Regions from separate parts of the Homo sapiens genome. Here all the other regions are linked to region 2. The links are contacts of gene promoters, found by promoter capture Hi-C in blood cells and fetal thymus (Javierre and others, 2016). All regions are on one chromosome and are shown on one strand. The core of a region is centred on a gene start or on the middle of the fragment in contact, and the rest is flanking DNA. Distances in the headings are between cores, read along the strand shown.

The links. The method cuts DNA at HindIII sites, captures the fragments that hold promoters and counts their contacts. A CHiCAGO score of 5 or more calls a contact.
Region 1: a contact is called between a fragment that was not itself captured here and the fragment with the promoter of NME1 in region 2, in 1 of 17 cell types (M1 macrophages). The highest score is 5.4, in M1 macrophages.
Region 3: a fragment that was not itself captured here is called in contact with the fragment with the promoter of NME1 in region 2 in 16 of 17 cell types (M2 macrophages, M1 macrophages, M0 macrophages and 13 more); the score reaches 26.4 in M2 macrophages.
Region 4: a fragment that was not itself captured here is called in contact with the fragment with the promoter of NME1 in region 2 in 5 of 17 cell types (M2 macrophages, M0 macrophages, monocytes and 2 more); the score reaches 11.9 in M2 macrophages.
Region 5: a contact is called between a fragment that was not itself captured here and the fragment with the promoter of NME1 in region 2, in 4 of 17 cell types (M2 macrophages, M1 macrophages, M0 macrophages and 1 more). The highest score is 10.4, in M2 macrophages.

The regions. Positions count from the first base shown.
Region 1 is chr17:51,270,406-51,276,342 of GRCh38, forward strand. UTP18 (UTP18 small subunit processome component) reads left to right here. Exons shown (of 14, transcript NM_016001.3): 5 at 2,957-3,045; 6 at 5,461-5,586. Among named protein-coding and RNA genes, the nearest start is that of UTP18, 13 kb to the left of the region's middle. The HindIII fragment of the contact is 370 bases long and covers 2,378-2,747 here.
Region 2 is chr17:51,150,262-51,155,674 of GRCh38, forward strand. It overlaps NME1 (NME/NM23 nucleoside diphosphate kinase 1), which reads left to right and starts at 3,298. Exons shown (of 5, transcript NM_000269.3): 1 at 3,298-3,401; 2 at 5,390-5,413. The coding sequence starts at 5,394. NME1-NME2 (NME1-NME2 readthrough) reads left to right here and starts at 3,298. Exons shown (of 9, transcript NR_037149.2): 1 at 3,298-3,401; 2 at 3,964-4,183; 3 at 5,390-5,413. RefSeq lists enhancers at 2,611-3,810, 2,834-3,365, 3,149-3,568, 4,965-5,413. The HindIII fragment of the contact is 18,411 bases long and covers 1-4,583 here.
Region 3 is chr17:51,038,524-51,043,744 of GRCh38, forward strand. SPAG9 (sperm associated antigen 9) reads right to left here. Exons shown (of 30, transcript NM_001130528.3): 5 at 2,978-3,128. Among named protein-coding and RNA genes, the nearest start is that of SPAG9, 80 kb to the right of the region's middle. The HindIII fragment of the contact is 585 bases long and covers 2,971-3,555 here.
Region 4 is chr17:51,078,797-51,084,333 of GRCh38, forward strand. SPAG9 (sperm associated antigen 9) reads right to left here. Exons shown (of 30, transcript NM_001130528.3): 2 at 788-908. Among named protein-coding and RNA genes, the nearest start is that of SPAG9, 39 kb to the right of the region's middle. The HindIII fragment of the contact is 5,676 bases long and covers 1-4,410 here.
Region 5 is chr17:51,057,904-51,063,295 of GRCh38, forward strand. The region is part of intron 2 of SPAG9 (sperm associated antigen 9); the gene reads right to left. Among named protein-coding and RNA genes, the nearest start is that of SPAG9, 60 kb to the right of the region's middle. The HindIII fragment of the contact is 578 bases long and covers 3,249-3,826 here.

The sequences.
Region 1 (5,937 bases), core at 1,313-3,812, 120 kb after region 2:
ATTTTATTATCCATTTCAGAATGCTGCATTTATAGAACCCCACAACATTTTAGATTCCTGTAATTTTGGGTATGGTTATGCTAGCTGTTGAAACAAAATCCCACAGATCCCAGTGGCATAATCCAATTGAAGTTGGTTTTTTCAGCACATAAAATTGGGGTGGTAGGAAGGTGATGGTTTACTTTAGGGACCCAAGTTTATAGAAGTTCTGTCATCTTCAGGTTGGTTCTTCCAGAGTTGCCTAAGATGTTGACATCCACTTGGCTTATAGGAGGAGAAAGAGGGGATTTTTATTGGCCTTTCCTGGAAATGGTACAGGATACTTTTGCCTACATTTTGTTGGCTGGAACTCAGTCATAAGGCCACACTAGCTGAGAGGATCCTAGGAAGTGTAGTTTGGCTTTGTGCACAGGAGAAAAAGGAAGTGGATTAAGTCAGCAATTAGTCTGCTACAGTATGGGATATGCTTGTCTAACACATTCATTTTGTACATGAGAGAGGTTCAAAGAGATAGTGACTTGTTGAAGGTATACTTATTGTTGACAGAATGGTGACTAGCACTCAGCTTCATGATTATCTCCAGTGTGTTATTTTTATCTGTAAATATTTACTGAGTTTCGTTATAAGAAAATTCTCCCTTTTGAACATAACCACAGCTCCAAAAATCAACAGCAATTCATTAATATTATGAATTGTTGTATTGTGTTGCTCTTTGTTTATCCCCTCTCCCTATCATTTTAGCTTGCTTTGTATTTTGCTTAGACTTCATAGTACTTTTGAACTGGCTTGATGTCTTCTGTAAGTTTTGGAAATTCTCACCTGTCTTCAAGTATTGTTTCTGTTCCAGTCTTCCTTTCTAGATTATTAGTAATACGTATATTAAATGTCTTCCACCTATTTTTTGGTTTGGTTTTTTTTTGAGACAGGGTCTCACTCTATCGCCCAGTCTGGAGTGCAGTGACGTGATCTTGGCTCACTGTAGTCTCGACCTCCTGGGTTCAAGCAATCCTCCCACCTCAGCCTCTGGAGTAGCTAGGACTACAGGCATGTGCCACCATGCCCAGCTAATGAAAAAAAAAATTTTTTTTTGTAGTGACAGGATCTTATTATGTTGCCCACATTGGTATTCAGTGTTTTTTATCCTTTTTCTTTCTGTACTTCAGTCTGGGTATATTTTTCTGATTCGTTTTCTAGACCACAAATTCTCTCTACAGCTAATTTTGATGTACTGTTAAAAACATCTATTGGAGGCTTAATTTAATTTTATTTGTTATTATTTTTTGAGTTAGTCTTGCTCTGTCGTGTAGGCTGGAGTGCAGTGGCACTACCTCCACTCACTGCGACCTCTGCCTCCTGAGTTCAAATGATTCTCCTGCCTCAGCCACCCAAGTAGCTGGGATTACAGGTGTGCACTACCATGCCTGGCTAATTTTTGTATTTTTAGTAGACACGGGGTTTCACCATTTTGGTCAGGCTGGTCTCGAACTCCTGACCTCAAGTGATCCACTTGCCTCGGCCTCCCAAAGTACTGGAATTACAGATATGAGCCACCATGCCTGGCCTATTGGGGGCTTACTTTTAATTACGTATTTTTCAGCTCTAGAATTTCTTTTTCAAATATTCTACATTTCTGGCTCAATTTTGAATCTTGTCTTTCATTCTTAAATATATTAAACATAGTTTTTTTTGTTGTTGTTGTTTGTGTTTTTTTGAGACAGAGTCTTATTCTGTTGCCCAGGCTGGAGTGCAGTGGCGCAATCTCAGCTCACTGCAACCTCTGCCTCCTGGGTTCAAGTGATTCTCTTGCTTCAGCCTCCCAAGTAGCTGGGATTACAGACATAAGCCATCATGCCCAGTTAATTTTTGTATTTTTAGTAGAGACGGGGTTTCTCCATGTTGGCCAGGTTGATCTCTGACTCCTGACCTCAGGTGATCCACTCACCTCGGCCTCGCAAAGTGCTGGGATTACAGATGTGAGCCACCGCGCCTGGCCTGAACATAGTATTTTTAAGGTTTGTGTCTGATAATTCCGTTGTTTAGATCCCTGTGGGGATTGTCTGTTTTTCCTTGTGGTTTTTAGTCAAGTTATCTTGTCAATATTTGCCTGGTTATATTTCATTGAGTGGTGGACATTGCATATGAAAAATAATGTAGATTAATTAGATCTAGGATGATGGTTTATATGTTTACTTCTAGGTAGGTAGCTTGGCAGAGGACACTAGTAATCCCAGAACGTTTTATTTTAATGAGGAATTGTGAAGCAGAATTTCAGTTTTGGGAAGATTTTCTTATAATTCTTTGATTTCGTCTTTAATCCTAGTGGTAGCCCTTTGTGGCCGCAATCCAAAATCTGGTGGCTTACCAGACCCTGTCAAGAAGCTTAGAGCTAGTTTTTCCCTTCTTAGCTCCGCAAGTGTTTTAAGTTTGCTCAGCTTCTTAGCTGTCTCCACTGGAATCATCAGTCATCTCCAGGGGGAAAAGCAGCCCTATTTGCTCTTTTTGAAGTTCTGATACATAGATTGCTGACATTGATCATTCAGCTAAAAGTTCTGGTTTTTATTCATGTGAGTTGTTAAACTAGATCAGTAGCCAACCTGTTGCCAATTTTGCCATAATTATGAGTTGCTCTTTTTAAATGAAATGCTGGCTTTAAACTTTTATTTCACTTCATCTTGTTTTAGTAACCATCTGTGTATGTGTTAGTCTTTCATTCTAGAGTTAAACTTTGATTTTAACTATGGATGTTAAGCTTTGTGTCATCTTTTTCTTCTCCTTTAAAATTTTTTTTTTTTTTTTCCTGTTTTGCTTTTGCCAGTTGCAGCTTTAAAAAAAGCAATTGAGGTAGGGAGGCTGGAAAGGGAGTTGATGTTGAAAATATATTCATAGAAGTTTGGGGTAGGTAAAAGGGGCAGCTCATTGATTCTAAAGATCAGCCTTCTGGGTTTGTTTGACTTAGATGAAAGTGAAGAGGATGAAGATGATTTGTTGCAAAGGACTGGGAATTTCATATCCACATCAACTTCTCTTCCAAGAGGAATCTTGAAGGTGAGAGTCAGTGAAGTTGGGGGATCCTATCTAACTACTTACCTCTGCAGTTTAATTTGCTTCCCAGTAGCAGATGTATGGATTCCTATTATCTGTGGGGTTAAATATGTTTGCTGTCATTTTGCCCTGGTAAATACTTATGTTATTGTTTTTTTTTTTTCCTTTTGCAAAAAATGTTCTAGAGGTATTATGTTCCTATTGCTTGAGCTCAGGAGTTTGAAGCTACGGTGAGCTGTGATGGAACCACTGTACTTTAGCCCGGGTGAAAGCGAGACCCTGTCTCTAAAATAATAAATAAATAAATAAATAAATAAATAAATAAATTTTCCAGTAATTCTAGGAATCCCGTTTGGTTTATCTTCATTTTCATTGGCATCAGCCTAGTTCATACTGCTGTCATCTCTTATCTGGCATATTGCAGTAGCTTTGTGACTGGACTCTTTACTTCTACTTTACCTCTTTTTAAATCATTCTTTGTATGGCAGCCAGAGGGATCTTTTAAAAATAAAACATCAGGTCATGTCACTTTTCATTGCTTTTTGAAAACTTCTGAATTCCTTATCGTATTCTACACTGCCCTTTACAGTCTGGCTTTTGCCTGGATCCTTAGCCTCATATCAGACCTGTTTCCCATGATTTCCCACTTGAGTCACACAAGCCTTTTTCTGTTTCTTGGACATGCTGCTAGGTCCTTTCTTGCCTGTGAACCTTTGCTCTTTCTCTTTTGTTCTGCCTGCCTTGTCTTCAGGAAGTCCTAATGGCTAGCTCATTCTTACCTTTCTGCTCAAATGGCACCTTAGACAAGACTTTCTCTAAAGTGGTCTACACTATTCACTTTCTAACTCATCACTATGTCTAGCATGTTCATTATGGTAACCAGCTGCCTATGTAGCACAGTACTTTAGTTAAATATCTGTCATACTAACGGGCAGTACTTTAGTTAAATATCTGTCATATTAACAGATCTCTCTGTGACATAGATATCTTTTGTTTGTTTGTTTGTTTTTTTGAGACAGAGTTTTGCTCTTTTGCTCAGGCTGGAGTGCAAGGGCGTGATCTCGGCTCACTGCAACCTCCGCCTCCCGGGTTCAAGCAATTCTCCTGCCTCAGCCACGCAAGTAGCTGGGATTACAGGCATGCACCACCATGCCTGGCTAATTTTTTTTTGTTTTTGTTTTTTTGGTAGAGACAGGGTTTCTCCATGTTAGTCAGGCTGGTCTCGAACTCCTGACCTCAGGTGATCTGCCCGCCTCAGCTCCCAACGTGCTGGGATTACAGGCGTGAGCCACCGCGCCCAGCGACATAGGTCTCTTTTCTTATTACACCATGGCAGGAGTATTTAAATGGGGCAGGGGAAACTATTATGATAAATTAGATACAGTGATTTTGTCTTGCACCTTATGAGGACAATTCATTTAGCTCTTTACGGGTGAATTCACCTCCATTAAAAATGTAGTTACCACATGGCCGGGCGCAGTGGCTCACGCCTGTAATCCCAGCACTTTGGGAGGCCGAGGCGGGCAGATCACCTGAGGTTGGGAGTTTGAGACCAGCGTGACCAACATGGGGAAACCTCATCTCTACTGAAAATACAAAATTAGCTGGGTGTGGTGGCACATGTCTGTAATCCCAGCTACTTGGGAGGCTGAGGCAGGAGAATCACTTGAACCCAACAGGCAGAGGTTGTGGTGAGTCGAGATTACGCCATTGCCCTCCAGCCTGGGCAACAAGAGTGAAACCCAGTCTCAAAAAAAAAAAAAAAAAGTTGTAGTTACCATAAAAATTTAACTTGGTGGTTACAAACAAAACACATACTTTTGTTTTTAACTGAATTTTAAAAATTCAAGGGGAAACCTGTAAAAACAAAATAAATAACAAAATAGTCCAGGTGATGGATGTGAGATTACCATTACTTTAAACTTGGAACCATGTACCCTAAGAGAATAAAGCAACCTGTGCCAATTGAAGAACTGTGGGGACAACTGTGCAGTGCCTCTTGCATTTGTGCCATGAATGCAAAGATGCCAGGTGCCAAAGTAGAAGTTTTAAGTGAAATTTCCTCAGAAGTGAAAGTCTCTTAACACAAATGGATGTATTTTGGGGAAATGACTACATACTAGTGCTCCAAGAATGAGTAATACATTCAGACTTCTAGATATGGAAAGCACTTTAATGATTTAATCTTTTTATTTGAAAGATGGTAAAAATGGATTCTTTTGTGGTAAAGTGACTTGCTAGTTGGTGCCAGAGCTGCGGTTTTTTTGTTTTTTGTTTTTTTTTTTTGAGTTGTGTTTGGTTACCATTCCAGTGCATTTTTTTCCTTCATTATAAACTGTAATGTCTTTTCTTCTTACTCTAAAGAAAATAATGTTTATTCATTTCAATTGATAAAATCCCAGCTTTCATTTCCTATAGATGAAGAACTGCCAGCATGCGAATGCTGAACGTCCTACTGTTGCTCGGATCTCATCTGTGCAGTTCCATCCCGGTGCACAGATTGTGATGGTTGCTGGATTAGATAATGCTGTATCACTATTTCAGGTATGCATCTTTATTTACTTATTTATTTCTAATGCATTATTTTTATTTAAGGACCAGACATTTGCAACCCCAAATGCAAAAATACTGAAAAAGATATTCATAGCTAAAACATCATAGCCCGAAGCATAGCTAAGTCTCACAGAAGTGACAGAGTTCATTTACTTGGAAATACAAAACAGAACATCCAGTCAGCATACTGCCCTTGCTTCTTGCTCCAAAGTCTGTCGTCACTGTTTTCAATCACAGCTGCTCACCCCTTGCCTGTTCACAGTTTGGGTCGCTCACCATCCCTTGCCCACTCACATTTTTATTGAATGCACCTGTATGACTTCAGTGTACAAGGAACCATAA
Region 2 (5,413 bases), core at 2,048-4,547:
TTGAAATCTATCCAAGGGAATTATGTATATTGCATGTATTAATAGTTTGTTATTTTTTTCTATTGTTGAGTAGCATTCCACAGTATGGATGTAGCATAGTTTGTTTAACCATTCACATGATGAAAGACATTTGGGTTGTTTCCAGTTTTTGGTTATTACAAATAAAGCTGCAATGAACATTTGCGCACAGGTTTTTGTGTGAACAGAGCATAAGTTTTCATTCCTGTTGGATAAACGCCCAACAGTGCAATGGCTGGGTCATATGGTAAGCACATGTTTAGTTTTTTAAGAAACTATCGGCCGGGCGCGGTGGCTCACGCCTGTAATCCCAGCACTTTGGGAGGCCGAGACGGGCGGATCACGAGGTCAGGAGATCGAGACCATCCTGGCTAACACGGTGAAACCCCGTCTCTACTAAAAATACAAAAATTAGCCGGGCATGGTAGCGCGCCCCTGTAGTCCCAGCTACACGGGAGGCTGAGGCAGGAGAATGGCGTGAACCCGGGAGGCGGAGCTTGCAGTGAGTCGAGATCGCGCCACTGCACTCCAGCCTGGGCGACAGAGCGAAACTCCGTCTCAAAAAAAAAAAAAAAAAAAAAAAAAGAAACTATCAAACTTTTTCAGAGTGGCTGTACAATTTTATATTCCTACCAGTAATGTGGATCCAGTTTCTATACCTCCTTAATAGCGTTTGGTGTATCACTACTTTCATTTTAGCATTCTGATAGGCATGTAGTAATATCCGATTTTGGTTTTAGTTTGAATTTCCCTGGTGGCTAATGATGTTGAACATCTTTTCATGTGCTTTCTTGCCTCTGTATATCCTGTTCAATGAAATGTCTATTCATGTCTTTTGCCCATTTTCTAATTGGATTTTTTTAACCTGTTGAGCGTTCAGAGTTCTTCAAATATTCAAACCTTCAAATGAAGAGAAGGCCTTTATCTGATATGTGGTTTGGAAATATTTCCTTCCACTCTAGCTTGTTTTTTCGTCCTCTTCAAAAGGTCTTTCACAGGACAAAGGTTTTAAATTTCTTTTCTGCAGGGCACAGTGGCTCACGCCTATAATCCCAGCACTCTGTGAGGCCAAGGTGGGCGGATCACCTGAGGTCAGGAGTTTGAGACCAGCCTGGCCAACATGGTGAAACCCCGTCTCTACTAAAAATACAAAAATTAGCCGGGCGTGGTGGTGCACGCCTGTAGTCCCAGCTACTCGGGAGGCTGAGGCAGGAGAATCACTTGAACGTGGGAGGCAGAGGTTGCAGTGAGCTGAGATCCGCCAAGGCACTCCAGCCTGGGTGACAGAGCAAGACTGCATCTCAATAAATAAATAAACAAATAAATAAATAAAGGCCGAGCACGGTGGCTCATGCCTGTAATCCCTGCACTTTGGTAGGCCGAGGCAGATGGAACACTTGAGGTCAGGAGTTCGATACCAGCCTGGCCAGCATAGTGAAAACCCGTCTCTACTAAAAATACAAAAATTAGGGCCAGGCGCGGTGGCTCATGCCTGTAATCTCAGCACTTTGGGAGGCTGAGGCGGGCGGATCACGAGGTCAAGAGTTTGAGACCAACCTGGCCAACATGGTGAAACCCCGTCTCTCCTAAAAATACAAAAAGTAGCCGGGTGTGGTGGTGGGCACCTGTAATCCCAGCTGCTCGGGAGGCTGGGGCAGGAGATTCGCTTGAACCCGGGAGGCGGAGGTTGCAGTGAGCCGAGATCGCACCACTGCACTCCACCCTGGGCGACCTGGCAAGGCTCCGTCTCAAAAAAAAAAAAAAAAAAAGAAAAAGAAAATACCGGGCGTGGTGGCAGACGCCTGTAGTCCCAGCTACGCGGGAAGCTGAGTCACGAGAATCGCTTGAACCCGGATGGCGGAGTTTGCAATGAACCGACATCGTGCAACTGCGCTCCGGCCTGGGCGCCAAAGCGATACTCGGTCTCAAAAAGAAAAAAAAGAAAACAGGAGAATAATGAAATTTTACTTATTTATTTTATTTATTTTTTATTTTTTTGAGACCGAGTCTCGCTCTGTCACCCAGGCTGGAGTGCCCTGGCGCAATCTCGGCTCACTGCAACCTCTGCCTCCCGGGTTCAAGCGATTCTCCTGCCTCAGCCTCCCGAGTAGCTGGGACTACAGGCGCCTGCAACCACGCCCGGCTCATTTTTGTATGTTTAGTAGAGACGGGGTTTCACTATGTTGCCCGGGCTGGTCTCGAATTCCTGAGCTCAAGTGATCCTCCCGCCGCTGCTTTCCAGCGTGCTGGGATTACAGGCGTGAGCCACCGCGCTCGGCCAAAAGTTTTAAATTTCAGTAAGTTCCAATTTATCAACTTTTTCCCTGTATAGATTGGTCTTTTGGTGTCGTCTAAAAACTATTTGCCTGGCCCTAGGTCCTGAGGATTTTTTTTAACTTTTTTTTTCCCCATAAGTGATTTATTGTTTTACATTTAAATCTATGATTCATTTTGAGTAAATTTTGTATAAGGTGAGAGGTTTAGGTTGAGGTTCTTTGGGTCTATATTCGTCCAATTGCTCCAGCATCATTTGTTGAAACGGCTCCTGATTCCATTTTTGTACCTTTCCCCCGTTCATTTCCCCTTAGAGCAGTGGGAATGTTTTTTTGTTAGTGATGATGTCATGCCTTGTGCAAAATCTGTATTAGCATCTCACAACATAAGATTTGGCTCTATTCTAACGGCATTTTCCACCACTCGATGTCCACCGTAATACTTGGCTCTCGAAGAATCACTGGGCTGGCTCCCTCACTTCATGCAGGTCTATTCTATTATCACTTACTCAGAGATTTCTCTGGCCTTTTCTTCACAGCACTTACAAAATGCGATCTATTACATATTAATTTGCTTATTTGCTTCTTGTTTTCCTATACTCCCATCCCTCCCAGAAGCTCCAAGAGAGCATACTGTTTTATCCCTAGGGCCTAGAATAATGCGTCCACGTAGTAGGTACTCAAAATTTTTTGCTTGACAGGCTAGAAAAGGTGAATAAACACAAAGCGGGAGCGAAAAGTCTACTTCTAGGTCAGGCACTCTTTGGACTTCACGCAACGTGTGAGCGCCACCTCTCGGGAAGCCAATTTGCTCGCGAACGAAGGAAGTGAGTCAGAGAACCCGGGGGTGGAGAGAAGAAAGCAAGCAGCTAACCGGAAAGGTCTGAAAAAGCTAGCGCCGGAAGTTAAACTGCAGAAAGTTGTTCCCTAGAATGACTGCCTACTCCCAAGAGGAAGCGTGGGCGAGCGGTGTTCTGCAAAATGGGCTCTCCGGCAGCGGATCTGCGCAGAAGCGTTCCGTGCGTGCAAGTGCTGCGAACCACGTGGGTCCCGGGCGCGTTTCGGGTGCTGGCGGCTGCAGCCGGAGTTCAAACCTAAGCAGCTGGAAGGGTAAGAGGTGTTCGGGATCCTGAGAGGAAAAAGAAAGGAGTGTAGTCGCGGGAGTGGGTTAGGTGAGGAGTTAGTGAAGAGATGAGTTCAGCTCTAAGAGGCGGCGAGGAGGATCGGATGGGAGGAGGGGCAGGGAGCGCCTGTGGACAAGTGCAGACCGGTCGGCGCACGTCCCACGCCACGTGGACTCGCCTTTGTCGGTGGCCGCCTTTCTCGTCAGGCCGCGACGACAGGGCTGTGCCTTATTTGTGTCTGTCGAGAGCAGTGCCGGGCACGGAGTTGGCGCTCTGTAAGTGCTTGCTGAATAAATGACGGGTGTGTGTGTCATTCATTCAGCAAGCACTGAGTGCTTACTGTTGTGTCACCGGGACCGATGTGGAGGGACATTTTTAGGGTGTATTTCTGGCGCTTTAGTCCTGTTTTCTCCTGGACAATTTATGCTTGCCCCGCACCCCATCGTGCGATTCTCCGCAGTCTTTGGGCTTTGTCTCTCTCTCTTTTTTTTTTTTTGGAAGTTGCAGAATGGTGATAAATGATTTTCTTTGCTCCTATTGACTGCTAGGCCCTGTGGCTAGGTACCATAGAGTCTCTACACAGGACTAAGTCAGCCTGGTGTGCAGGGGAGGCAGACACACAAACAGAAAATTGGACTACAGTGCTAAGATGCTGTAAGAAGAGGTTAACTAAAGGACAGGAAGATGGGGCCAAGAGATGGTGCTACTGTCTACTTTAGGGATCGTCTTTCAAGGCGAGGGGCCTCCTATCTCAAGCTGTGATACAGGGTAGGTCATGAGCGCAGTCTTCTGTAAAATGAGGGATCTGGACGGAATAGTTACTCTCTAGGCTTCCTTTCAGTATGATGTCCCGTATCAGATATTCCTAATGTCTGTAGTTCTCCCACACCCCACCGTTTATTGGCTAGTCAAAATATTCTTTGCATTGTAAAGTGTAGCATAACATTACAAGAATGGATTAATGGGTTGGGAATGCTGGGTTTTGGCCTTCATTCTGGTGCTGTGGTCCTGTTTCCTCATTTGTAAAATGAAGGGGGTTGTAAAGATATATTCTCTAAAACCCCTAATGCTATGGCTGTGGCATTAAGTCAAACTATTATTTCTTACTGCTTTGTACCGGACATCACTTTCACATTAGTAAAACTTTTCATCAGTGTAGTTTCTCCCAAGCTTGATTATTGAGAAAGATAGTGCCTTGTTTTTAACATCCTGTATCCTAGTTCCACCGCAGTGTTTGGTACACAGTAGATGTTTAAAAGAAGCTTATTAAATCAAATGGTGGCCAGGCTCATGGGGCTCACGCCTTTAATCCCAGCACTTTGGGAGGCTGAGGTGGGCAGATTACTTGAGGTCAGGAGTTGGAGACCAGCCTGGCCAACATGGTGAAACCCCATCTCTAGTAAAAAAAAATACAGAAATTAGCTGGGTGTGGTGGCACGCACCTGTAGTCCCAGCTATTTAGGAGGTTGAGGTAGGAGAATTGCTTGCCTGGGAAGTGGAGGTTGCAGTGAGCCAAGGTCGCACCACTGCACTCCATCCTGGGCGAAAGAGCAAGACTCCATACCAAAAAAAAAAAAAAAAATCAAATGGGGCTGGGTGTGGTGGCTCATGGCCATAATCCCAGCACTTTGGTAGGCTGAGGTGGGCAGATCACTTGAGGACAAGAGTTCGAGACCAGCGTGGGCAACATAGCGAAACCCCATCTCTAAAAAAACCCCACAAAAACCAAAACAAATGAAAATAAAATAAATCAAATGGGATAGAAATTATAGTCCTTGCTTTTGGATCCTTTCCCACATTGACATATTAGTTCATAGATCAGGGGACTGGGGAGGAATTGGGTTTTTACCAGAGGGAGACCTGGAGCTGACCTGACAGATTTAAACCAGCTTTATGGGATAATCCGCTTGAGACGGATGACGCTGTAGGCAAGTGATTCACTGCTGTTTCATTCCTCTACCTGCCTATCCCCAGAACCATGGCCAACTGTGAGCGTAC
Region 3 (5,221 bases), core at 2,013-4,512, 110 kb before region 2:
TTCTTTTGGCACCCTTGACAGAAGGCATGTTGGTGCAGTAGGTAGGACTGAAAGTCTGAGTGTGATGAAGAGAAAACCACCACTTAAACATGCTGAAGTGCTTCCCCACTTCAGGGCCTTCACAATTGCCATCTCATCTTCCTCAACACGTACTCCTCCAGACCTTTCCATGCACCTGCACATCCCCATGTCAGGATGAAAGTCATCTTCCAGAGGCTTTCTCTCATACCCTAAAATGAGTACCCATCCTTACTAATTACTCTTTAGCTTACCTTGCTTTAACAATACTTGAAGTTCTATTATTTCATTTATTTGTTTACTTGTTTGTCGATCTCCATGAGATTGTGATAAATCAAGAATATGTACAAATATTTCTTTTTAAGAACTTGTACATTTTTCTAGGTGCATCATTCCTAGAAAATCTATTAGATTATTTACAACCTCACTCACCACAGGTCTCTCACAGTGAGAAATTTGTAATACACCAACAAAGAAGGCCCATAACTTTACAATCACTGGCAAATCCCCTTATCTGCTGCTATTCTGCCACAAAGTTTTCTGTCGTTCTCTCACAGGAAATTTTCACCTTAACCTTACTTCACAGAAAAATTGTGGTAGTAACACTAACATTAATTATAAATTTACACCTTCCATTTTTTCATAATGAAGTCAAAACATGCCCTAAGATGGCTAGGTCATCCTCAATCTCAGGGGAAATGATATTTTAAATTAGAGTCTAGTCCAATTCCTGTTATACACAGAAACCAAAATGACAGGGCATGTGACATACCTGTGGCATAGCCCACAAGTGAATCCTAAACCCCTGACTTCCAGCCCTGGTAAAGTAGAAAGTTATCTAGTGAACGACAAGGGCTTAGGTGAAAAATAAAATACTGTACATCCCAACTAGTAACATGATTTACAAACTAGACTTTTGCCATTTTGTAAGCACCACCCCATTCCTGGAAATCCTTATTCATTGAGTCTTTATCTCATTCGGTGGCTCCAGTTCCAGACCAAGTAGAGAGAGACAGGGTTTTGTTTTAGAAACTCTCTGGTGAGTACCTGCCTTATACTAAGGCAAGTCCTCCTCTAGGGAGGACACGAGAAACTCCTCTGCTTAAGTCTATACTAATAATTTGTTAATCGGTTTATAAGTTGTCAATAAAGTTCTGGCATAGCCTATCAGTGGAGTAAAAAATAAAGAGAATTATAATAATCTCTTAAGGCGCACTTTTGGGTAGTATTAAAATATAGTTACCATATGGGATACTTTTTTTTGTACTAAAAGTATCCCTCCTACTTTTGTTTTGGGAAAGCACACACAGCAAGTAGGCAATTGAGAGATGAGTGTTTTGGAAAATCTATTAAACCTGCAGGAAGGCTAAAAGACCCATTGTGGTACAGAAGTAAAGAAAGAGAGAGTTGCAGCCAGGCGCAGTGGCTCACGCCTGTAATTCCAGCACTTTGGGAGGCTGAGGCGGGTGGATCACCTGAGGTCAGGAGTTCGAGGTCAGCCTGACCAACATGGTGAAACTCTGTCTCTATTAAAAATACAAAAATTAGCCAGGTGTGGTGGTGGGTGCTGTAATCCCAGCTACTTGGGAAGCTGAGACAGGAGAATTGCTTGAACCCAGGAGGAGGATGCAGTGAGCCAAGGTTGAAATGAGCTGAGATCTCACCACTGCACTCCAGCCTGAGCGACACAGCAAGACTCTGTCTCAAAAAAAAAAAAAAAAAAGTGAGAGCGAGCGAGTTGCCCAGTAACATCACTGTGGGCTAATACTGAGCACTATTAGCTTCTAACAAATTGGGGCAAGAAGGGAGAAAAGGTAAGGTAACCCCTATTGTTAAAAATGATTTTCAGTGGGAGAAAAGCTATCAAATATTTATCAACTGCTTACTGTTTTGAGCACATTTCAAAGGTCAATAGAATGATTCTGAATGCCTCTACATTCTAGAGTTGAGAGAAAGACCACTTATATTGTCCCCAAAGATTCCTTCTAACATCTAAAACAAATCATTCACTCAACAAACATGTTCTGAGTACCTATAATGTGCTAGGCACTTTTCCAAGTGCTGGGGGATACAGCAGTAAATAAACCTCATAGAATTTATGTTCTTAGGGAAGAGTCTAGAGGCAACTAAATACAGTAAATGACAGTATTTTAGAAGCATTGTTAAGAGCTATCTTTACATGCTTAGACCATGATAAGTATTATGGAGAAAAATAAAGCAGGAAAAGGAAATAAGATACATGTAACTCATTTCTACTCATTGCAGGTGGCCTGTTTCATGATGAGTTGATTTTATAAGGTAACAAAAGATCTTTTATAATCAATATGATGAATATTTCATTTTAAAAGATACAGAACTTCAAATATTCTTAAAAGTTAATTATTAGCTTATATCCACTCAGCATATATTATTGTTTATATTTATCACTTATTTGATGACAAGTTCTTGGTCAAGAACATATCTATAATTAATTTACACCACGCCTTTTTAGCTAAACATAATGCATTTTTGTAGACTGCTCTATGAAGCGGTTTTAAAGAAGGAACAGTGTGTTTGTTTTGTTTTGTTTTTCTGTAAGTGAAACCCTACTAAATTGGAAAGCCTCTAACATGAACCAAGACTTTCTGGTAATAGCGATTTTCAATTCTAATATAATTAGGTTCACTAGTTACCCTACTCTAAACTCATATAGCCTAAATCAAATAGAAATTAATTTTTGTCATTAGTATACTAATCAAGATGATATAATGCTTCACTTTTTTTCCTATATAATTTGAAATAAAATAGTAAAAAACACACTCTTTGGTAAGAGCTCATTTCCAATTTAAAAAACCAATTTTACAAACTAAATGTATACAAACAATTACATTTTACTATACTGTGGTCGTCTAGCACTTCAATTAGGATAAGAAAGTTTATGAAATATAAACTGACACAATTTCAGCAGCATAAAGCTTACCTTCAGGCTGGTATGAGAACGTGGTTGACTTAATTCCTGAAATTTCCATTGCTCAGATCCAGGGGTCTCTCCTCCTTTCTGAGCATCAGGTGTAAGCAATCCATCTCCAGCAGGTAATGGGAAAATTCCTAATGATATAGGGCGTTCTTTTCTATTTGAAGAGGGGAGAAAAAATTCGGCATTCATTTATTTTGACTTTTTATTTGCCATGACTATAAGTAATAAGCCTGGACTGCCACTGTTTTACAACCATCACTCAAAAATGACACTGTCTGCCCATCTGAATAAAACAGACTTACCAAAGAGGAAGGACAGTCTCAGTTTAGTTAGCCTCAGGAAATTAGCCTCAAGAAATCAACTAAGAAAAGTGGTAAGAAGGGTTAAGGAAATCTTAAAAGTTACTGACGAGTTCCTTGCCCAAGAAGCAGTCAGTGGTCTAGTGTGGTCTGGAGAAGAGCTGCTGCTGGGTTTTTAACCATACGTAGCTTAGCCCTAGGGAACTTGCAACCTCCTTCTTTGGAAGTGAATCCAACCCATTTCTTCCCAAATCCTCTCGCTAATCCCTGGATGTTTACTGAAGCTTCTTCAGGGTATGACTTTCCTGCCTAGAGGAAAATCAATATATTATCTAAATCAGGGCTACCTATTAAATGATGAAAAGAACTCAAAATATCTTTCTCCCCACCACCCAAGTAAGAAAGCTCTGTTTTTCTACAGAACCACTATATGAGTTCCTTTCAAGCACAGTACATATGAGAAAACCATTGTCGGTTTTTTCCAAATAAGAAGGTCAAATAATTCTATAAAAGATTACTGAATTTCCAATGCTTTGTGAGAAGTTTCAATGAACAAGAGTTACAATTTTAATACTAACAGAATTTCAACGAGAAACACATCCTTTGTTGATGCACACAAGATTCCAAATCGAAGAGCTTTTAGAGGGTGGAAACAAGCCTACTAACGGGTCATCCTGGGTCATTAACTCAAAAGTGTAGAAACTAGAAAGAAATGATACACTAAAGGTTTGGTGCCTCCTGGAATTCCTACCTCTACTGGTAAGAATGTAAGTTAGAATAAAAACAATGAGCTCATTAATTAAAGTGGGAAAATTTCAGTTTTGCTAAGTAAGTCTTTAATTCTGTAGTTCATTTTTATTCCAAGAAACTTCAGCCACTTTTGAAATGTGTCTTCACTTAATACAAAGGGTGTGTTCTTCCATTCCTAACAATCTAAAAGGACTAGTAAAACTATCCCAATGCCTTCTTAAAAATGAGGTGAAGCAAAGGGGTTGAGAGACTACATTTAGTCAAAGTTGTATGCACAAGGAAATAAAATTTAAAAACAGAACTTTGATTTAGGGGGAAAATTCAAAAGCAGGAAGGCAGTACAATAAGAGGGTAGTTTTTGTTTGTTTGTGTCTTGCTGTGTTGCCCAGACTGAAGTACAGTGGGACGATCTCGGCTCACTGCAAGCTCTGCCTCCCAGGTTCAAGCAATTCTCCTGCCTCAGCCTCCCAAGTAGCTGGGATTACAGGCATTACCACCACGTCTGGCTAATTTTTGTATTTGTAGTAGAGACAAGGTTTCACCATGTTGGCCAGGCTGGTCTTGAACTCCTGACCTCACATGATCTGCCTGCTTCGGCCTCCCAAAGTGCTAGGATTACAGGTGTGAGCCACCACACCTGGCCAAGAGGGTAAATTTTAACACCAAATCTAAGTTTGCGACTATGAGCTGCCGGGACAACCAAATGACAAAAATTAAAGTGACTAGTCAGCTACCATGTTTACACCAGTTATTCCCAAATGCTGTTCAGCAACAAAGTTTTTATAATAAGTCCATGAAAAAAGAGGCGTTATTTATTATTTCCTTAGTGCATAGATAATATAGTACCTATTGTACACATACACATTCCCATATACTATAGAACCCTGTTCTTTCTTGAAAATGACTGACCCTTATTTTAAATTACATCTTTTCTTCTTCTTTGATTTTAAAATGCCCTTTCTTTCATTAAATGATGGTGACAGTGATAAGTAGCTAGATTTCCTTTTCATATTCATTCTGGACAAAATAAAAAGTTGTCAATCTGATGTTTTCCCCCCATATTTTGTGAACCGAAAATCCAAGGGGACTAAGAGCTACTAGCTGACTTTTATTTATTTTCTAACATACCTTAATGAGTTAAGCAAAAGGTGACTGGGAATTTAATGACTGAATATAATGGAAAGCTCTCTAACTCAAA
Region 4 (5,537 bases), core at 323-2,822, 73 kb before region 2:
AGGAGCAAAAAAGAGGATTCAGTACTTTTTTTTCTCCAGTATCTAATTACATGCTTAGGTAATTTTTAAATACATACTTCAAAGCTGTAAGTTTACCTTACATTTTTACATTTCAAAGCAAAACAGAAAAAATGGAGCTTTGTGTACTTGATCAAAAATAGAGGAAATGATCCACACATACACACACACTTGCATAATGGTTAAAGCATAATGTTAACTACAAACAAAGGCTGAGATCTAAATTGAAGTGAGTCTGATCGATATATCTGGTTTAGTCAGTTCTGCACACATGGGTACCATGTGAAAATGTGAATAAAAAAGAACTAACCCTAGGTCCTAGGTCTCACTCTTGAGTCTGGGATGACAATTCCAAGTTTGTATTTAGAACCTTAGTCGAATTTCAGGATGAGTCATTGCACCATTAGAGCCAATTCCTTTTTTTTTTTTTCTGGGGGGTGGGGGGACACAGTTTCATTCTGTTGCTCAAGCTGGAGTGCAGTGGCACCATCTTGGCTCACTGCAGCCTCTGCCTCCCGGATTCAAATGGTTCTCGTGCCTCAGCCTCCTAAGTAGCTGGGATTACAGTCATGCACAACCATGCTCAGCTAATTTTTGTATTTTTAGTAGAGACGAGGTTTCACCATGTTGACCAGGCTGGTCTTGAACTCCTGAACCCAAGTGATCCTCCTACCTCGGCCTCCCAAAGTGCTGGGATTACAGGCGTGAGCCACCACGTCTGGCCAAGCCCAATCTTTAGTGTACTTATGAGAAGAAATGTTTTACTTACTCTGGTCAGCATAGTTTTTCGCTTTCAGCTCAAGTTGTCTTGTTTGAGATTCTAAAGATTCCACTCGGGTCTGTAAGTCCTTTTTTTCCTGTTCTTGAGAGTCTTCAAATTCAATGAATTTCTAATAAAGAAGAACAATATAAATTTAATCAGAGAAATTAAACTTTACATTTTCAACTCCTGTTATTTCTTGGAATCAATAATCACAATTAGGTATTAACTACTTAGATCTCAGAATTATGACCTTGGGTTGATTTTTAGTTTTTCTATAAAAATTAAGTTTAAAAAACTCCCAAATATAGAAGAAAAAAATAACAAAATAATTGTTTCCACTTCATGTTATAGGCATTCCATATGATATACATATCTTACTACAAATATATAAACCCTTTTGTATACTTGCATATGCATCTTGACTTCCAGACAACTTAAAAATCTATAACATGTACAATAGAGAACAAAAGAATGATGGAATAATCAATAAATATTTGTTAAATGGTTGTGTGATTAATAGTCATAGATTCACCTGAACCATGGAGTTTAAATTCCTAAGAAAAGGACATGTCCTAGGAATAACTCCACCACTCAAATCTAACTTACCAAACCTGTTCTCATCAAGGATAGTAACACTAAGTGCAATCATTAAATCTCAGTCTTCATCTTGATTGTTGTATCAGCAACATCTGACAAGTGATCCGCTCTCCTTAAAACTTTTTTTTTTTTTTTTTAATTTGGCTACCAGGATGTTTTCTTGTTTGCTGCTCGTTCTTGGTCTTCTTTGGTAGTACCTCCTTTTCTCCCCAACTTCTTAACATTGGCATGCTCCGTCCTTGGACACATCTTCTCTTCCTTGTTTACACTTATTCCCTAGTGATCGCGTCCAGTTTCATGGCGTTAAGTACGAACTATATGCTGACAACTTCTGAATTTCTATCTCTAGCCCAGACCTGAATTCCAGATTTGTATGTCCAACTGCCTACTAGAAAACTTCAATTGGATGTTTAAAAAGCATCTTAAGGCTGGGTGTGGTGGCTCACGCCTGTAATCCTAGCACTTTGCGAGGCTGAGGAGAGCAGATCACAAGGTCAGGAGTTCAAGACCAACCTGGCCAACATGCTGAAACCCTGTCTCCACTAAAAATACAAAAATTAGCTGGGCATGGTGGCACGTTCCTGTAATCCCAGCCACTTGGGAGGCTAAGGAAGGAGAGTTGCTTGAACCGGGACCCGGGAGGTGGAAGTTGCAGTGAGCCGAGATCGCACCACTGCACTCCAGCCTGGGCTACAGAGCAAGACTCTATCTCAAAAAAAAAAAAAAAAAAAAAAAAAAGCATCTTAAATTCTTAAATTTAGCATGTGAAAACTTGCTCCTCTCCTGGTCTTCTCTAGCTCATTAAATTACTGTGGTCAGTTACTCAGGACCAAAACTCTGGAGTCAGCTTTGACTCTTCTGTTTCTCTAGTACCTCACATATCCAATCCATCAGCAAATCTACCTTCAGATCTGACCGCTTTTCATCATTTCCACCACCATCCTGGTGTGTGCCACAATCATCTAATGCCTGGATTACTGCAACAGTGAAAGTCTCCTAATTAGTCTTCTTACTTCCACCCTAATCCTCTACAATATATTCTAGAGGATCTAGGAGGATTCTTTAAAAAGTCAGCCAGCCAGCCTGTCCAACATGGTGAAATTCGGTCTCTACTAAAAACACAAAAATTAGCTGGGCGTGGTGGCAGGCTCCTGTAATCCCAGTTACTGAGGAGGCTGAGGCAGGAGAATCGCTTGAACCCAGGAGACGGAGGTTACAGTAAGCTGAGATCACGCCACTAAACTCCAGCCTGGGCGACAGAACAAGACCCCCTCTCAAAAAAAAGCAGGCCAGGAGCAGTGACTCATGCCTGTAATCCCAGCACTTTGGGAGGCTGAGGCGAGCAGATCACCTGAGGTCAGGAGTTCGAGACCAGCCTGACCAACATGGAGAAACCCCGTCTCTACTAAAAATATAAAATTAGCTGGGTCTGGGGCGCATGCCTGTAATCCCAGCTATTTGGGAGGCTGAGGCAGGAGAATTGCTTGAACTCGGGAGGCAGAGGTTGCGGTGAGCTGAGATCACGCCATTGCACTCCAGCCTGAGCAACAAGAGCAAACCTCTGTCTCAAAAAAAAAAAAAGTAAAAACAATTTATCCTCTGCTTAAAACGCTCTAGTGGTTTAAATTCTTTACCATAGCCTCTAAGGATCTACACAACATGCTTCCACCATTCTCTTACTTCTTTGACATCATCCCCTACTTCTCTTCCTACCCTCTTCTCCTTCCCATTCTCTGATTCAAGCATCCATGCAGTTCCTCAAACACTTCAAGCCTCAGCACTTGCTTCCTACTACCTAGAATTCTCTTCTTCCAGATATCCAAACAGCTTGCTCTCTACTTACTTCCTTCACATCTTTGTTCAAATCTCACCTTCTTGGTGAAGGCTTCTTTGGCCAACCTATTTAAAACTGTGATACCAGGCCAGGCATGGTGGCTCACGCCTGTAATCCTAGCACTTTGGGAGGCCAAGACAGGTGGATCACTTAAGGTCAGGAGTTTGAGACCAGCCTGGCCAACATGGTGAAACCCCATCTCTACTAAATACAAAAATTAGCCAGGCATGGTGGTGCACGCCTGTAATCCCAGCTACTCGGGAGGCTGAGGCAGGAGAATTGCTTGAACCCAGGAGATGGAGGTTGCAGTCAGCCTAGATTGTGCCACTGCAGTGCATTCTGGCCTGGGCAACAGAGCAAGACTGTCTCAAAAAAAAAAAAAAAAAAAAAAAAAAACCTGTGATACCTACTCCCTATCTCTCCTCCCTGTTTATTTTCTTTAGAGTACTTAACCTCATCCAACATGCTATTTTAGTAATTAATGTTACTTATTACTTGTCTGTCCTCACTAGAATGTGGGTTCCATGAAGTCAGGGATTTTTGTTTTGTTCACTGCTGTATACCCAGTACAAAGAATGATGATAGCAGCACATAGCAGGTTCTCAAATATTTGTTAAACAAATGAATAAATGAAGAAAATTTTCCAAGTTAAAAAAACTGAAACCCTTATAGAAAAATTTATAATTCACAAAAAACTTAGGTATCACTACAATATATCCTAGTTTTAACATGAAATTGTCAGTCTATTACCTATATTAACTGTCCTCAAACTTTTCAATCACTGCAGAGGACATGGGTTTTTGTTTTTGTTTTTTTGTCTACACACATTACGTTCCTTTGGGGAACTTTCTCTCTCCAGTTTCATGCTAAGTATATTCAGTCCATGTAATTTGATTGGTGATGACCCCAACTCCCTAGGGGTGGGCACATGATTTGAACCAAACTGAGATGTCCTCTCTGGGACATCTGCCAGTTCTTAAACTCTAAAAACCTAGCAGGCCTAGGCTGCAGACTGACATCTTTTTCCAGCATAGAGAAGAGCAGGCCTGAGACTAAAGCCAATATAGAGAAAAAGAGCAAAGGGGAGAAAAACTTTAATTAAAGATACTATTTGTACCCAGGATTCCTGGAGCCAGAATTTTCCCAGTGTGTTTTGTTCTTTTCAGTTACAAAATCCAATAAATTCCTTTTTTACATAAGCTTGAGTTGGTTTTTCTTTTTTCTTTTTTTTTTTTTTCTTTTTTGAGACTGAGTTTCGCTGTGTCCCCCAGGCTGGAGTGCGCTGGTACCATCTCAGCTCACTGTAACCTCTGGCTCCCGAGTTCAAGTGATTCTCCTGCCTCAGCTTCCCGCACAGCTGGGATTACAGGTGCCTGCCACCGCACCCGGCTAATTTTTGTATATTTTTGGTAGAGACGGGGTTTCACCATGTTGGCCGGGCCAGTCTCGAACTCCTGACCTCAAGTGATCCACCCACCTCGGCCTCCCAAAGTGCTGGAATTACAAGCGTGAGCCACCACACACAGCCTCTTTATTTTATTTATTTATTTATTTATTTATTTATTTATTTATTTAAGATGTAGGTCTCACTATGTTGTCAGGCTGGTCTACAACTGCTGAACTGCTGGCCTCAGACTCCTGGGCTCAAGCAACCCTCCTGCCTCAGCCTCCAGAGTAGCTGGAACTACATGTGTGAGCCACCATGTTTAACTTTCCTGATCTTTGAAGCCTGAAAACTACAAACCCTATAACATTGGTTCTTAATCATTAGGGGGTCCAAAGACCAATTTGGAAATTTGATCCATCTATGAACCATATTTCCCCAGAAAAAACGCCCCCGCCCATGTCAAATGCCACCTATTTTTCTCAGAGGGCTTAGAGACACTGTAGTTCCTTCCACAAACCCCAAGTTTAGCACCTCTTCGCTATACTTTTCTATGAAAACATTTCATATTTGTGGGACTTCTGGGGAAATCAAGTCACTGTTTATTTTTCAGAATATTCAAGATGACCATATATAGGAAAAGTAAAGGTTACAGTAAATATAGGAAAAGAGGCAAACTAATAAATCATTCATTCATTCAAGAAACATCTACTGACTACTTACTATGTACCAGGCACAGGGAACATGACTATGAGTATCCAACTAGCCCTGCCTTCCAAGTGTTCATTGGCTAGAACTGAATGCAAGCAGATGATGTAAGGTTACGTTAAATAGAAAAGCAGAAACTATGAAGTCTGAGTAAGTTATTTCAACATTTTGCCTTGATATATAAGCAAAGACTAAGAATTAATAGGAAAATGTAATTATTTTTTGGCCTGCTT
Region 5 (5,392 bases), core at 2,288-4,787, 92 kb before region 2:
TAATAAAATTTAATTCTATGATTTTTATTTAAAAACAGGAAATCCAAGCAAATTATGGATATTTAATAATTTCAAAATAAACATTTTCTACTACTTGTCATTTAAACTGATTAAAAGCTTAAAGGAATTCTGAGACTACTGGACAAACCATATCTATTTTCAATTGTTCATCTTTTTGAATCATTATTTTCTTGATAATGTGCAACAAAAACAAAAATTGGATGCTGAGGCTGAAATAAAATCCAACTATCATTCATAATCCTCAATTTCAAATTTGTGCTCAATAGTAGAGCCTTATTATTCTTGTCAGCTGATATAAATTCATAAATAAATTTGTATCACCAACACCACCACTACTAATAGCAGCCAACAACATCAAGTGCTTACTATGTACCATACAGTCCTAAGAACTGCATATAAACTAACTTATTTGAGCCTAACATTAACCTTACGATGAAAGTATTATTATTACATCCATGGTAGAGATGAGGAAACTGAAGCAAATAGGAGCTAAGTAACTTGCCCAAAGTCACACAGATAGAAAATGGCAAAGCAAGGATTCCTATCAGAATCTGGCTCCAGAATCTGTGTTCTTAATTACCATGCTATACTGCTTCTCAGCAAATACTCATTTTAATCTGTTTTGTATATTGGAGTTTACTTTAAGATATCACTTTGGGCAGAGGGGAGTATGCTTCAAACAAAAAACTCCTCTGTTCTTACAGAAACAACCCATTCACAGATACTTTGATACAAAGGGCATCAAACTGCCAAGCAAAATGTGTACCCAAGTCAGGGAGATGCACATTAAAACCAAAATGCAACACCACCATGCTTCTGAATGGCTACAGTGAAAAACACAACACACCAAGTGCCAGTATGGATGTGGAACTACTGGAACTTTCATAAACTGTGGTGTATGGTTTCATACACCGTAACTTGGTATGCCCAATTTAAGAACTGTTTGGCAAGATTTAGTTAAGTTTCGAATGTTTGCCAACCCTATCACAAAACAATGTCATTGCTAGAAAGCCTATATATATGTCCACCCAAAGGTATTTAAAACAATGTTCAAAGAAGCACAATCTGAAAACAATCCAACTGTCCATCAAGAGTAGAATGGATAAATATTCATGTACTGGAATACTGTACAACGTGAATAAACAAATTATTGCCACACACAACATCATGGACCAATAGCACAAATATGATATTGAAGGAAAGAAGCAGAAACAAAAGAATACAAAATTCAAAGACATAACACAAAACTAATCTGAAATGTTACAAGTCAGGATAGTAGTTACCTCTGGGGAGGAGTCAGTGATCTGATGTATTTATGCCTGTATAGCCCCAGCCCACCTCAGTTCAAACACGATGTGCATCCATTCACACAGGCACTTTCCTCTGCTTGAATACTCATTCTTCCTTATGTTATCCTACAATGGCTATGAGTTCAACATGTAGAATGGGATTTAAACAAACTATTCAGAACCATAACAAACAAGCTTTATTGCTCTGACTGTAGCATTCTCAGGGAGAGAACAAAAATGTTACCGAATAGACTGGATAAAGAAAATTTGGTGGGTCACGCCTGTAATCCCAGCACTTTGAGAGCCGAGGTGGGCGGATCACAAGGTCAGAAGTTCGAGAACAGCCTGGCCAACATGGTGAAACCCCATCTCTACTAAAAATACAAAAACTAGCTGGGCGTGGTGGTGCATGCCTATAATTCCAGCTACTTGGGAGGCTGAGGCAGGAGAATCGCTTGAACCCAGGAGGCAGAGGTTGCAGTGAGGCAGAGGTTGCAGTGAGACAAGATTGCGCCACTGCAACTCCAGCCTGGCGACAGAGTGTGACTCCATCTCAAAAAACAAACAAACAAACAAACAAACAAACCAAAAACCAGAATCTCACCACTTTTACCACCTTCATCACTCTCACTTTGACCCAAGACATCATCTCTTGCTTAGGTTATTACAATAATAATCCTAGTCTCCTGACTAGTTTCTCTACTTAGTCTTTGTTCCCTACATTCTCAAAATAGAGATGGAATCAAACAGTGACTAACCGCTCAAAACTTCAAAGCTTCCGATCTCATTTTTAAAAGGAAAAAAAAATTCTTACAATGGTCTGTAAGACTTTTCTGGATCTGATTGTCAAGTCACAACACTCTTTGCTTCCCATCCCCACAGAGAACTCTTATCTCCTGACCTATTATGGACTGAATTGTGCTCCCTCACCCCCCAAATTCATAGGTTGAAGCTCTACCTCCCAATATGACTGCATTTGGGGGATAGGGCCTTTAAGAAGATAATTAAGGGCCGGGCGAGGTGGCTCACACCTGTAATCCCAGCACTTTGGGAGGCCGAGGCAGGTGGATTACCTGGGCAAGAGTTCGAGACCAGCCTGGCCAACATGGTGAAACCCTGTTTCTACTAAAAATACAAAAATTAGCCAGGCGTCATGGCAAATAGCAGTAATCCCAGCTACTCGGGAGGCTGAGGCAGGAGGATCGCTTGAATCTGGGAGATGGAGGTTGCCGTGAGCTGAGACTGTACCACTGCACTCCAGCCTCGGTGACAGAGCGGGACTTTGTCTTTTTAAAAAAAAAAAAAAAAAAAAAAGGCAGAAGAAGGTAGGTAATTAAGGTTGAATGAGGTCATTAAGGTGGGGCCCTGATCCAACAGGGCTGGTATCCTTATAACAGCAAGAGATAGGCAAAAGGCCATATTAGGACACAGAGGTAAAGCAGCCACCTGCAAGCCAAGGAGAAAGGCCTCAGGAGAAACCAAATCTGCTTGTACCATGGATCTCAGATTTCCAGCCTCCAGACTGTGAGAAATAAATTTCTGCTATTGAAGCCACCCAGTCTGTAATATTTTGTTATGGCGGCCCTAGCTGACTTATACCATTAAGCAAACCTCAGAGAAAAGGGTTTTTTTTGTTTTTTTTTTTTTTCCTTGAGACAGAGTCTCACTCTGTCCCCAGGCTGGAGTGCAATGGTGCGATCTCAGCTCACTGCAACCTCCACCTCCCTGGTTGAAGCGATTCTCCTGCCTCAGCCTCCCTGAGTAGCTGGGACTATAGGCGTGCACCACCACATCCAGCTAATTTTTGTATTTTTAGTAGAGATGGGGTTTCACCATGTTGGTCAGGATGGTCTCGATCTCCTGACCTCGTGATCCACCCACCTCGGCCTCCCAAAGTGCTAGGATTACAGGCGTAAGCCACCGCGCCCCACCGAGAGAAGCTTTTATATAAGATGTTTGTCAACTGACTTGGTCAGAGAGCTGGGTTTATACCTTACAGAACAAAACATTATAATGCCACAAAACAAAGTCAGGTCCTGACTGATTTTATGCCAGTTTCCTAATCAATTTGTTTGCATTGCTTTGTGTCAAATGTACACCACTTAATAGTGAGATTAGGCCAGGAGCGGTGGCTCAAACTTGTAATCCCAGCACTGTGGGAGGCCAAGGCGGGCTGATCACCTGAGGTCAGCAGTTCGAGACCAGCCTGGCCAACATGGTGAAACCCCTCTACTAATACTACAAAAATTAGCTGGGCATGGTGGTGCACGCCTGTAATCCTAGCTACTCAGAAGGCTGAGGCAGGAGAATCACTTTAACCTGGGAGGTGGAGGTTGCAGTGAGGTGAGATCACAACATTGCACTCTAGTCTGGGCAACAAGAGCGAAAGCTCTGTCTCCAAAAAAAAAAAAAAAAAAAAAAAAAGGCTTGTGGGAAGGAGACATATAACAGAATATACCATTAATTTTGGGAGATTTCCAATATTTATCTAAATGAATATGACCATTGTTCACATAAGCTTAGGTTCATCCATAAAAATTCCTTAAAGTTCTAGTAATCATTTTGTTCTCCTTAAGCATTTTGAATTATTTCTATCATTAATTCCTTCAGCCTCCATTCACAGCTTTCTAACCCATCAGGGTTACTTTTTGCTAAATTTACTTCCATTTGGCAACACAGTCTTACTTTCACCTCAGAAATAACATTTGATAAACTATCAATCCATTCTCTAACCATCTCTTTCAAAAGGTGAAATGGTTATATTTACTAATCTCATATAAATAATATACATACATATCTATATTTTTTTATTTAATAGCAACCATTTATCACAGAAAAAGGGCATTTAGCACATGCAAACTACCTGGAGTTACAGATGACTTGTCCCTTTTAATTTTTAATAGACTTTATTTTTAGAGCCGTTTTAGGGTCACAGCAAAATTGAATGAAAGTACAGAGAATTTCCATGTATTTGCAGCCCCCTACACACGCAACCTCCCCTACCATCAACATCCAGAATCAGAGTGGTATACCTTTTACAATCGATGAACCTACACTGACACATGCTTATCACCCAAAATATATCAATTACATTAGGGTACACTCGTGGTGTTGTATACTCTACAGCTTTTGACAAAAATATGACATGTGACCACCATTATAGTATCAAACAAAATAAGTTCACTGCCTTAAAAATCCTGTGCTCCACCTATTCATCCCTCCCTACCATCTCCCAAACCTTGGCAATCAATGATCTTTTTACTGTCTCCATAGTTTTGCCTTTTCCAGAATGTCACATAGTGGGAATCATATAGTACCTAGCCTTTTCAGATTGGCTTCTTTCACTTAGTAATATGCATTTGAGGTTACTCCATATCTTTTTTTTGTTTGTTTTTGAGACAGAGTCTTGCTCTTTCACCCAGGCTGGAGTGTAGTGGCATGATCTCAGCTCACTGCAACCTCCGCCTGCCAGGTTCGAGCAATTCTCGTGCCTCAGCCTTCTGAGTAGCTGGGACTACAGGCACCCACCACCATGCCTGGCTAATTTTTGTATTTTAGTAGACACAGGGTTTCGCCATGTTGGCCAGGCTGGTCTCGAACTCCTGACCTCAGGAGATCCACCTGCCTCCGCCTCTCAAAGTGCTGGGATTACAGGCGTGAGCCACCACACACAACCTACTCCACGTCTTTTCCTGGACAAACAGTTTATTTCTTTTTAGCACTGACTAATATTCCATTGTCTAGATTACCATAGTTTATGCCTGTTATTTTCATAAGAGCTAAAGGTCTTAAAATTACAGGTCTCAAACTTTTACTATCTCTTTCACACACAAAATTTCATGTTTTTAATGCACAAAAAGTGGTATTTTAAGATATTTTCAACTTACTGTTACATATTAGAAACTTGTATGCTGGCCGGGCACAGTGGCTCACGCCTGTAATCCCAGTACTTTGGGAAGCCGAGGCAGGCGTATCACCTGAGGTCAGGAGTTCAAGACCAGCCTGGCCAACATGGCGAAACCCCATCTCTACAAAAAATACAAAAAAATTTAGCTGGGCGTGGTGGTGCATGCCTGTAATCT